Linked DNA regions of Homo sapiens: all the other regions are linked to region 3. The links are contacts of gene promoters, found by promoter capture Hi-C in blood cells and fetal thymus (Javierre and others, 2016). All regions are on one chromosome and are shown on one strand. Each heading gives the region's core, a stretch centred on a gene start or on the middle of the fragment in contact. The rest is flanking DNA. Distances are from core to core; before and after follow the strand shown. Region 1 overlaps LOC124900674 (a long non-coding RNA gene). Region 2 has its middle 62 kb from the start of QDPR. Region 3 holds the start of LDB2 (LIM domain binding 2).

Region 1 (3,516 bases), core at 148-2,647, 600 kb before region 3:
AGCAGAACTGGCAGACTACTGCCCACTGGCCACATCCTGCCTGCTGCCTATTTTTGTAAATAAAGTTTTATTGGAATACAGCCACATACATTTGTGTACTTATGGTTTATGGCAGCTGCTGCCATACAATGGCTGAGTTGATTAGCGTGTGGCAAGTATCATAGTAGGCCCTTGATAAATAGTTGTCTGTATTCTCCCCATTTTACAGGTAAGAACATTGAAGGGAAATGGCTTAAGGAAGAACAGAAAGTTCCTATCTTCTTAGGAAAGGGCTCATTGTTCTTTGGCCTTGAAACAATTGCCAGACATGGTTTTAAACTTTTCCTAATTGGTCATTAGCTATTTTGCATCAGCACAAACACTGCTGAAAGTCATCCAATCAGCAAGACTGTCACTCAGGCATACAGCTAAATATTACCCAATCTGTAAGTACCCCTACTTCTGAGAAATTCCATGAATCCCTGAACTCCATACATCCCAAATAAATATATATAGCCAGCTCTCAGCTGTGCTCAGAGAGACTGGGCTTTACAAGTTGTTTTTCTCACTGGTTATTATGGCCTCTTTTTTGGAATACCCAAAATGAGTGAAGGAACTGAACTGGGATTCAATTCCGGACTATCTTCTTTCAAATCCCATACTCTCTTGTCTACTCTTCTTCTCTTAGAGTTTTGAATGCATGCTGCTGGTGTTAGTGGAGACGATGGTAGCTGGGTAGCTGGTACACAATATTGGCATTAAATAACATCACATAGGAAGGAAGTCATTTCCTTCTCTACCTTCAATTCTGTTTTAATCCTTCTTCATATACCCAAGATAAACTCTCAGTTGAGAGATAGTACACATAGCAGTTAACAAAACAGGCTCTGGAGCCAGATTTTCTACTGCTATTTTAGTTATCTATTGTTGGATATGAAACTAGCCCCAAACTTAGAGATGGAAGACACCAATAAAAATTTATTATCTTGCACATATCATGTGGGTCAGGAATGAAGAAGTGTCTAAGCTTGGTGGTTCTGACTCAGCATCTCTCATGAGATCATAGTCATGATGTTAGCCAGAGCTGGAGTCATCTGAAGACTTGAGTGAGCAGGAGGATTCTCTTCCAAGAATGCCCCCTCCCATGGCTTGCAAGTTGGTGCTGGCTGCTGACAGAGGCCTCAGTTTCTTGCCTTTCCATAGTGCTGCATGAATGTTGTCATGACGTGGAAGCTGGCTTCCTTGAAGTAGCTGATGCCAGAGAGCAAGGCAAAAGGAACAATATCTGTTATGATCTATCCTTGAAAATCACACAATATCACTTGTGTGTGCTTTGGTCACAAATACACTATGGGAGCTGACTACACAAGGGAGTAAATACCAAGAGGCAAAGACCACTGGGGGTCAGTCACCTGGGAGGCTGCCACTACCACTTACTAGCTCTGTAATGTTGGGAAAATTATTAAACTTCACTGTGCGTCAGTCTCTCTACCTATAAAGTGAGAATAATAATATAACCTACCTCATATGCAAGGTTTTTTTTTGAGAATTAAATGAGGTAATATCAGTAGGGCCTATGAAAGAGTGCTTAGAACTGAGTGCATACTAAGAAATGTCCACCGTTAGTACTTTGATAACTGTCTAATCCTGTAATCCAGTGTTACTCAAAGAGACAGTACTTCTTGAGATCAGGAGTCTGACACAGCAATGTAAATCAATGCCTTGCTTTCTTCATTGAAGAAGTCATAAATTTGTTTTTAATGTCAGTTGTAATATTGTATATAGTGATTTAGTTAATTTACATTTGGAGCAAGCTTATTAAGTGTTTGTAAACTAAAAAAGCAGTTTGTAGGCCAATAATCTGTCCATAAACCACACTTTGAGTACTGCTTTCAACACTTGCTAATCTTTTGTTAACATAAGAGTATAAGGAATAGTCCTTAATGGCATCATTTTCTTTTCTTTTCTTATCTTCTAAATTTCTCAAAATATAGAGGGAGGTGGGTAAGAACAGATAATTTTATGCAACTGATAATGTGCTATCAAAATGCAGAAGGATGGGAAGAATGAGCTAAGAGGAATAGATATTTACAGGCAAAGAAGTTTTGGAAAGTCATGGAAGGGAAGAATTCATCTTTGTAATGGCAAATGGCTGTTTTTATCCATTTATAGACATGTTATAAATTTTTTCTTTTAAATAATCTTATATCTTAGCCTGGGTTCTCCAAAAGCAAAGCCCAAGACGAAGGTTCTCATATGGGCTAATCCTCTGGAAAATGATTTCAGGGAGCAGAAATTTGGGAGTAGATCAGGAAGCAGATACAAGAATGAGTTGTTGAACTGGCCTCTGCTGCGAGGGTGGGAGTTCGGTCTCACCAGGATGTTCTGAGGGCCTTTTGAAATCCTTATGTCCCTGGGAGATGAAAGAGAAAAACATTTATCCATCGGCTTCTTTCCTTCCATTAGTCAAAGATGGTCCCCTGGTCACCACTCTCTTTTACTTCCAGGATGCATGTTGCATGTAAGTGTTCTATGGGTTCCAAAAGGGAGTGGGCAGCAGTGTGGAATTCCAAGCTAGGCAACAAGAGGTATGTGGTCTAGCTAGAGGCCAAGAGCTCTTTGGTTATTTCTTTGCAGAGCTAGGAAAAGTCTGCTGCTTAGAACTTTCAGAGTTGGCCGGGTGTGGTGGCTCACCCCTGAATCCCAGCACTTTGGGAGGCCAAAGTGGGTGGATCACCTGAGGTCAGGAGTTCAAGACCAGCCTGACCAACAAGGTGAAACCCTGTCTCTACTAAAAATACAAAAATTAGCCAGGCATGGTGGCACATGCCTGTAATCCCAGCTACTTGGGAGGCTGAGGCAGGAGAATTGCTTGAACCCAGAAGACGGAGGTTGCAGTGAGCCAGGATTGCACCATTGCACTCCAGCCTGGGCAGCAAGAGTGAAACTCTGTCAAAAAAAAAAAGAAAAAAGTAGTTTCAGAGTCACGGCGATCACAAAATACAACAAAATAAGACTCAAGAAGATTTCTGTGGATAAGGAATGTTCAATAGAATCCATTAAAATAAAAAAGCACATTTTGAAAATATAAAACATTAAGTAGGGACTTTGAGTTTTAGCTCAAGCATGTAAACAGCTAGGAAGCCATCATTCCCGTCTTTAAAAGAAAAGCTGGACAAATTGAAAATCAGTGACTTTTCCTGGAATCATCAGGGAAGTGTGATTGCACAACAAGCTGCCAGCTTAACACGGTAGAGAGACAGGTGCATCCAGAGATTTGCTTACCTAGAGGGAAGCTACTAATGCCATACACTGGGGAATATCTAAGTGGTAATTTAAATGAATTACCAGAGATACAATGAGAGAATGGGAAACTGGTGGAGGTCTCCAAACTTTCAATGGGCCTTCCCTCTAGGAGCCACATCGAGTTCTCATGATGGGGAGACTGAGAAAAACCTCCTTGAGGCTCTGGCAGTGGAAAGGGAGAGTAACTATTGTGAAATAAGCTCAGAGCCTACTTGGTGAAGAAGGGCAGCT
Region 2 (3,606 bases), core at 255-2,754, 550 kb after region 3:
CTGGCTCACAAGGACTTTTATAAGTTAAAAATGTGCAAGTGCTCCACCCATCAAACCCATCCCTCTTGTAAAGCAGTGCCATGAACCACTACATGCACTTGGAAGGCAGATTAGAAGGGGCAGCTTGCTGCTCCCGCCAAAGATTTACCTAAGAAGACTAAGCCAGGACCAGTCTCCTCCACATCCCCTGAAGCAGAAACCTCCCCTGCACAGATCAGAAGGGGAAAGTGCAGCCTCCCTGCCTTTCTCACCTACAGTCTTATTTATGGGGTGGTGAGGGCGGGGGGCCTGTATGCCTATTTGTTTACCAGAGGTGTTTTAGCCTAATTGGTTAGGAAAGAAACAAAGCATTTAGACAAATAATTGGCCATTCCAGGACATCCACCCTTGAAGAGTTCCCTGACAAGGAAAAGAAGATTCAAGAGTAAAGTTTGAAAGGTTTCAGCTTTCTTTCCAATGTTAGAAGAAAAACCTTAGCCAAAGTAAATGTAACAGTTGAATTGAGCAAGAATGATTCATGAATCAGCCAGCCTCCAGAGCCAGAGTAGGCTCAGAGAGTCCAGAGCAGCCATAGGGTGGAAGAAGATTTATGAACAGAAAAAGGAAAGTGACACACAGGAAACAGAAGTGAGGTATACAAACAGCTGGACTGGTGACAGCTCAGGCATTTACCTTATTTGAACACGGTTTGAACAGTTGGCACCCTTTGACTGGCCAAAACTCGGTGATTGGCACAAGAGTAGGTTACAGTCTGTTTATATCTCCGTTTAGGTTATAGTTCATGATGTACAGAGAAATCTTTAGGCTGAACTTAAAATATGTAAAGAGGCAGCTCTAGACTAAACTATTTAACACCAAATTCAATAACTAATTTTATTTTAATATAATACTTCTCTTTGCTTATAGATATTGGAATTCAACACCTCCAACAAATATTCATTGAATACTTAGAATATACCTGACTGCAGGAAATAGAAGCCCAAATATTTTTCAAACAACTATGATGTTCCAAGTTCCAAACTGTATGTTCTTTTATTTTATTTATTAAACTTTATTTTATCCTTTATTAAAGGATAAATTACTTTATCCTTTTCGCATCCTTTGACGTTCTTACGATTGCTCCCATTTTGCAGAAAAATAAACTGAGGCTCAAAGAGTTGAGCAGTTTAGCCAAGTTCAGGGCTAGGAATAGTGGGAAAATGGGCATCTCAACTACATTGGTCTGGCTTATGATAATGGAGGCCCACATATTCATTCCAAATCAATTAAAACTTAGAAGTTGTTGGTTTAACAACCATTTTTAGACTTGGTATTACTTGAAAGTATAATCAAGGGATCATTTATTCATTAGAGTAACTACAGTTCTATTTGAATAAGCTGAATTTTTTTCATGCTAATTATGTCTTTTGTGTACTATCCATTATGGCATGATGATCTTTTCAACTTCATCCACTTCCCTTTCTCTGTAATAACTCATTGAACAGAATGCAGTTCTATAAATGGTCCAGGGATGTACTCCTATCCCAGGATTTAAAAAGATAATATTCATAAGGCACTTAACAAAATGCCCATAACTAAGTAATCAGTGTATAAAGATTATTTATTTTCTTTAGTAAAGTTGCAGAGCGTTGGTCCTTATGTCGTATAGTAAGTGAAAACCTAAAAAATAAAAACCCTAATACCTGATAAGAACTGTAAATATCACAAACCTATTAGAAGTGAGATAGAGATGGAGACCATTATATGTGTCTAAAATGACGCATCTTTAGCTTCAAACACACACTCATGGGGCTTAACAAGAGCAATTGTGTGTTCACTCATAGAAAGACAACAATCAAAACAAATTTAGAAATATTCTGAAAAGTTGGGAATCTGTTGTCAAAATTATGACTAAAAGGCAAGATATAAATAGAAGTTTTATAATATTTCTTAGCTTTTTTCTGAATGAACCCTCCCTTAATACTAGATAAGCCTATTGTTTAGATTTTCTTACATTTTATTTTATGCACATTTTCAGAAGCCATTTACACAAAATTAGGATACTGCCAGTGTGTACTTTTTTTACACAATAAGTCTACTTTGTTCACTGTCTCCCCAGTATCCAAAGTAGTGTCTGGCACACAGCAGGCTCTCAGGAGGTCCTTGATGAATAAATGAATGACCAGATCTACATAGGATAATGCATGTGACAAAGAGGAAAAAAAACTTCAAAAGCTAGAGCTGAATTCCCCTTAGGGAGATAGCTGCCCTTTTGTGGATAATCCATTGTGATGGTTAATTTTATGTGTCAGTTTGCCTGGGCCATTAGATGCCCAGATATCTGGTCAAACGTTATACTGGGTGTGTCTGTGAGGGTGTTTCTGGATGAGATTAACATTTGAATCAGTACACTAAGAAAAGAAGATTGCCTTCCCTAATGTGGGAGGACCCCATCCAATCAAATGAAGACCTTAACAGGACAAAAAGTCTGAATAAAGGGAAACTTCTCCTGCTTAACTGCCTTGAGCCAGGACATTGGTCTTTTCAGGCCTTAAGACTCATACTGAAACATCAGCTCTTTTTCTTTTTAGTTATTTATTTTTAATTTTTTTAATTGACACATAATTGTACATATGTATGGCATACTTAGTGATATTGCAATACATATGTAAGGCATAGTGATCAGATCAGGGCAATTAATATAACCATCATGGCAAACATTTATCTTTTTTTTGTGTTGGGACTGAGATGGGATTGTTTCCTTGACCTCGACCCCCTTTGTGGGCAGGAACTGGAGTGGCTCATTTCACTCAGCCTGCAGTCCATGGATGGCTAACTGTTAGCAGCTCAGTGAAGGGTCAGAGTGATAGCCTCCTGCACCTGTCCTTTTTGACACCTGAGTTCTTGTTCGGTATCCAGGAAGAATCAGGTCACATGAACTATTTGAAGGGTAGTGTATGTGGAGGATTTTACTGGGTGATAAAAGTGGCACTCAGTGGGATGGGGAATTGGAAAGGGGGTGGTATGGGAAGAAGATGATCTTTCCCTGAAACTGAACCATCTGAAGTTAACTGCGTCTCCATAGTCTCTGATGCTCAGCTGCTTGTATCCCCAAAGTTCACCAACTTGTATCTCCGAGGCTCAGCAGCTTGCATCCCCAACCACTTGCACCAGCCACTTGTGTTGCTCTGCCAGACGAAGTCTTTTTATGGGCACAGGATGGGGGTGGGGAGGGCCAAAAAGGCAATTATTTGAGCAGAAAAAATGAGGTCAGCTGCTTTCACTTAGGGCCCAGGTTCCAGGCTTGAGGGTGGAGGTTAGCCAGGACCCAGCAATTCTGTATCAGGAACATTCAATGCTCTCTTTCTAGCTATTTGAAACTATATAAATTATTGTTAACTATAGTCATTCTACAGTGCTGTGGTAAACTAGAACTTATGCCTCCTATCTAACTGTAATTTTATAACCTTAACCAATCTCTTCCTATCCCCCTTTCTCTTTACGCTTCCCACCTTCTAGTCTCCTCTGTTCTATTTCTTACTTCTATGAGATCAACTATTTTTTAGCTTCCACATATGACTGAGAATATGTGGTGTTTAACTTTCTGTTCCTGACTTGTACTTAACA
Region 3 (3,463 bases), core at 123-2,622:
CTCTTTGGCATAAATCTTGTGGTATTTATACTCTGCAGAGAAGACTAAATTCCTAGCAATTTCCACTTCCTAAAGTGACTTTGGTGCACCTATAACAAACTCCTTTTCCGAACACTTCCACACAAAGCCCCAACTTACAGGCAGATGGACAATCCAGCAGCAAGACCTGCCAGCTGAGCTAGCACAGAGAAAAAGTCAACTGACATAAAATATTTAAATTGCAGGAGGCGAGTCTGGAGTTTTGCATTTAAAAAGTTCTGAAAGTCCTGTTCTCTCTGCTCCCAGAGTTGCTGGCTGCCTAGGAGGCTGAGTCTCCCTCTCTCAGGCACAAGATCTCAAATATGCAAAAACTAGAGCTGACTTGAAAGCTGAACCAGCTCCTGTCCTAAGGTAGAGTGATAGGGGGGCACGGCCGACAGCAATAGGAGAAAGTCTAGAGTCCCCTTGCCCCAAGCAACTGGTTTCTGATTTTAACACTGAAATATACAAACATGTGTCCCTCCAGGGCTAGTTCTGAGAAGTAGGCAGGTTTACTCTTCTGCCCCTTTTTACCTCGATTTTGGTGACTCTGAAAAGTAAATACAGGTCAAAGCAGACTTCCTCTAGGATTTGTAAAAAAGAAAATATATATATATATATATATATATATATATATATATATATATACACATATGTATATATATATATATATATATATATATACACATATGTATATATATATATAGCCAGATGCAAACAATCACAAAATTCCTTGGAATTATATCTCAAGAAACACCAACAGGACTGACTCAGAGCCTGTAAAACACCAGAGTTCTGGAAGAGCAACATTTCTGGAAACCCGGCATGTGAATCAAGTGCTGGGTTGTCTCAAGATTCCGGCAGAAACTGTCCTCTGCTACAAGAGTTGCTGTGCCTGGAAACCCAGCGTCCAAACTCGTGGATTCATCCTGGCGCTCATTTCCACGTACGTGGTAGTATCAAGTGGGACACTTCCCATAGAATTCAGCCAGAAACCCTAGGAAAAGCTCATGCATAGCTTAACAAAAATACACAAACACATCCCCAAGGTTGAAGTACTTACCTCTGTGCGAGACTGCAGTCTCTTGTTCATCTCATAGATTCGGTACTCTGGCTGTACCATGTATGGTGTATGCCTCCTATAAAATGGGCCGAAAGGAGAAGAATAGAAGGGGTCATGTGGTGTGCTGGACATCTTGCCTGCTTTTCGAAAATCAAGCTAAACAGAGTATCAGTAACGTCCATGCAGAGCACATGGGCTGTGTTCTTCCCAGTACAAAGTAGACGCACGCACACACGCTCACACACACACAGAGGCAGGCAGGCAGGCAGGCTGAACACGCTGGCTGGGAACTGCTGTCGGAGCCCTCTATAGCAGGAGAGGAGAGGGAGAGGAGAGGAGGGAGGGAAAGAGGGAGGGAGGGAGGGAGCACGGGAGAGGAGGGAGAGGGAGAGAGCAGGAGCTCCAGAGAGGGAGGGAGGTTGGTATGGAGGAAGGGAGGGAAGAAGGGAGGGAGGGAGGGAGGGAGGAGGGAGGGAGGGAGGGGGAGAGAGAGAGAGAGAGAGAGAGAGAGAGAGAGAGAGAGAGAGAGAGAGAGAGAGAGAGAGAGAGGAGCTGGATAGCTTTAGGCACCACTGCTTGTTTTTAAAGAAGCAGTTTGTGGAGAGGTCATTTCCTGTCCACATTGTAGACTAGTTCACAAATATAATTCTCCTCACAGTCTGACAAGAGGTCTAAGGTTTGGTTTTAATTTTTTTCCTCCAGCCAGGACCCTTCACAACCTGATTGCTAAGCTTGTTAGCATAGAGGTGGTCTAACCGCTACATGAGCCGCTCACCCCTGACAACCACACTGTTGTAATGTATCAGAAATGTTGATTACTACAAAATACAGAAACACGGGCACTGTGGTGCCCCGAATTGGGACCGGTGATTCACTCACATGCAGAGATTTATTTCAGCACTAATCTCCCTATGTAGTTTTGCTTTACTTGCTGTTGTTCCAAGGGCTGTTATATTCTTTGCCCTCCACTCCATCTCACTCCCATCTCTCCCCACTCACCCCTCTTCCCAGCCACCTCCCTCTTCTCCAAAGACTTCATTCAGGCCCTTAAGGTGCCTGGGCATTTTCAGGTAAAAACAGTCGTTCTGAATGTGGAAGGTATAAAATACACTTAAGGAGAGCAATGGTCTTTTTTCCCAGGAAGGAAAAACAAACAAACAAACAAACAAAAAACCCAAACAGACCTCCCAATAAGACAGGAAAAGCAAAGAAGGAGAAAACTGCCACAAAAATGACCACGGAAAATTTGGTTGAGAAGGAAATTGCAAATAATTGAATGGATCATCCCCAGATAACATGTCCAACTCTTATGGAGACAAAGTCTGTATTTTCCAAGATTGGTCAAGTAAACAAATATTTTCCCAACTGTGGTATATGATAACCATAAGAAATCCCAACAGCCCATGGAAGGGGAAAATCTCTATAGAGAATTAAACAATCTATAAAATAATCAAATTCTGCTAGAACCCACTATAACCAGAGATACGACACTTAAACAAAGCCCAGCCACACAAAATTTAAATGTATTGAGCTAACACCTAGGTAGGTCAGTGGTATTAAGGAAATAAAGCAAAGGACCACCAAAAAGCATAATGAATTCAAGACCTGAATGCAAATGCATGCAAATGAGACATTTCTTCTTTTTAATAAGCAGATTAATTAACTTTCTGCCCCAATCATGGCTTGGGTATCTCCAAGTCACTAGCCAACAGGGGATAGAGTATTGCTAATTCTGCAATTTACACTCTTAAAAATACTCAGACACAGAAAAGTGTATTGCTGTCTTGATCAGTCCTTCTTCATAATTGCATGAAATATTTGCTGAGTCCACCCCAAACTTCCAGCAGCGCAGCCTAACACACTAATGTCGCTTCCCAGGATGAGATTAGGGTAGGTATTACACTAAGGCTGCTTGGAACTTGCGCTAGGAGACCCCAAGGCAGGCGAGAATGCTTGGTTTCAGGTTTCATTACAAATCCGAAAGCTGGACCAAATTTGCTGCAAGGTTTGTCAAAACACACAACCTTCTAAAGACAGGATTTCAAACAATTTTGGCATGATTTACGTTTTGGTATGGCAGCCACTGCAAAACCTAATGGTTCCTTATGTTTAAACTCTCAAACTAAAGACATTCTGAAAGTTTAGTGTCTGCCTGAGTTTGTGTTAATGTGACCATTTCAGTGCAAGAATGAAAGTAACACCTAGGCAGGCCTGTGCAGGCCAATAGTAACAAAAAAAAATGAAACAGTTCAAAAATCCATTTAGGAAGGGAATCCCTCTCTGAATAAGGTTCTGGTTTGCTCTCATTTGTTTCTGCAGACCATTGCCAATTATAATTGGAAATATTTCTTGCCATTAATAGTGAAAGACTCTCATTTCAGA

What was found. The method cuts DNA at HindIII sites, captures the fragments that hold promoters and counts their contacts. A CHiCAGO score of 5 or more calls a contact.
Region 1: a fragment that was not itself captured here is called in contact with the fragment with the promoter of LDB2 in region 3 in 1 of 17 cell types (M0 macrophages); the score reaches 5.5 in M0 macrophages.
Region 2: a fragment that was not itself captured here is called in contact with the fragment with the promoter of LDB2 in region 3 in 2 of 17 cell types (endothelial precursors and naive CD4 T cells); the score reaches 6.1 in endothelial precursors.

What each region holds. Positions count from the first base shown.
Region 1 is chr4:16,293,612-16,297,127 of GRCh38, forward strand. The region is part of intron 2 of LOC124900674 (a long non-coding RNA gene); the gene reads left to right. Among named protein-coding and RNA genes, the nearest start is that of TAPT1-AS1, 69 kb to the left of the region's middle. The HindIII fragment of the contact is 787 bases long and covers 1,005-1,791 here.
Region 2 is chr4:17,448,319-17,451,924 of GRCh38, forward strand. No RefSeq gene overlaps it. Among named protein-coding and RNA genes, the nearest start is that of QDPR, 62 kb to the right of the region's middle. The HindIII fragment of the contact is 7,832 bases long and covers 1-3,606 here.
Region 3 is chr4:16,897,273-16,900,735 of GRCh38, forward strand. LDB2 (LIM domain binding 2) reads right to left here and starts at 1,373. Exons shown (of 8, transcript NM_001290.5): 1 at 1,082-1,373. The coding sequence starts at 1,213. The HindIII fragment of the contact is 2,891 bases long and covers 1-1,810 here.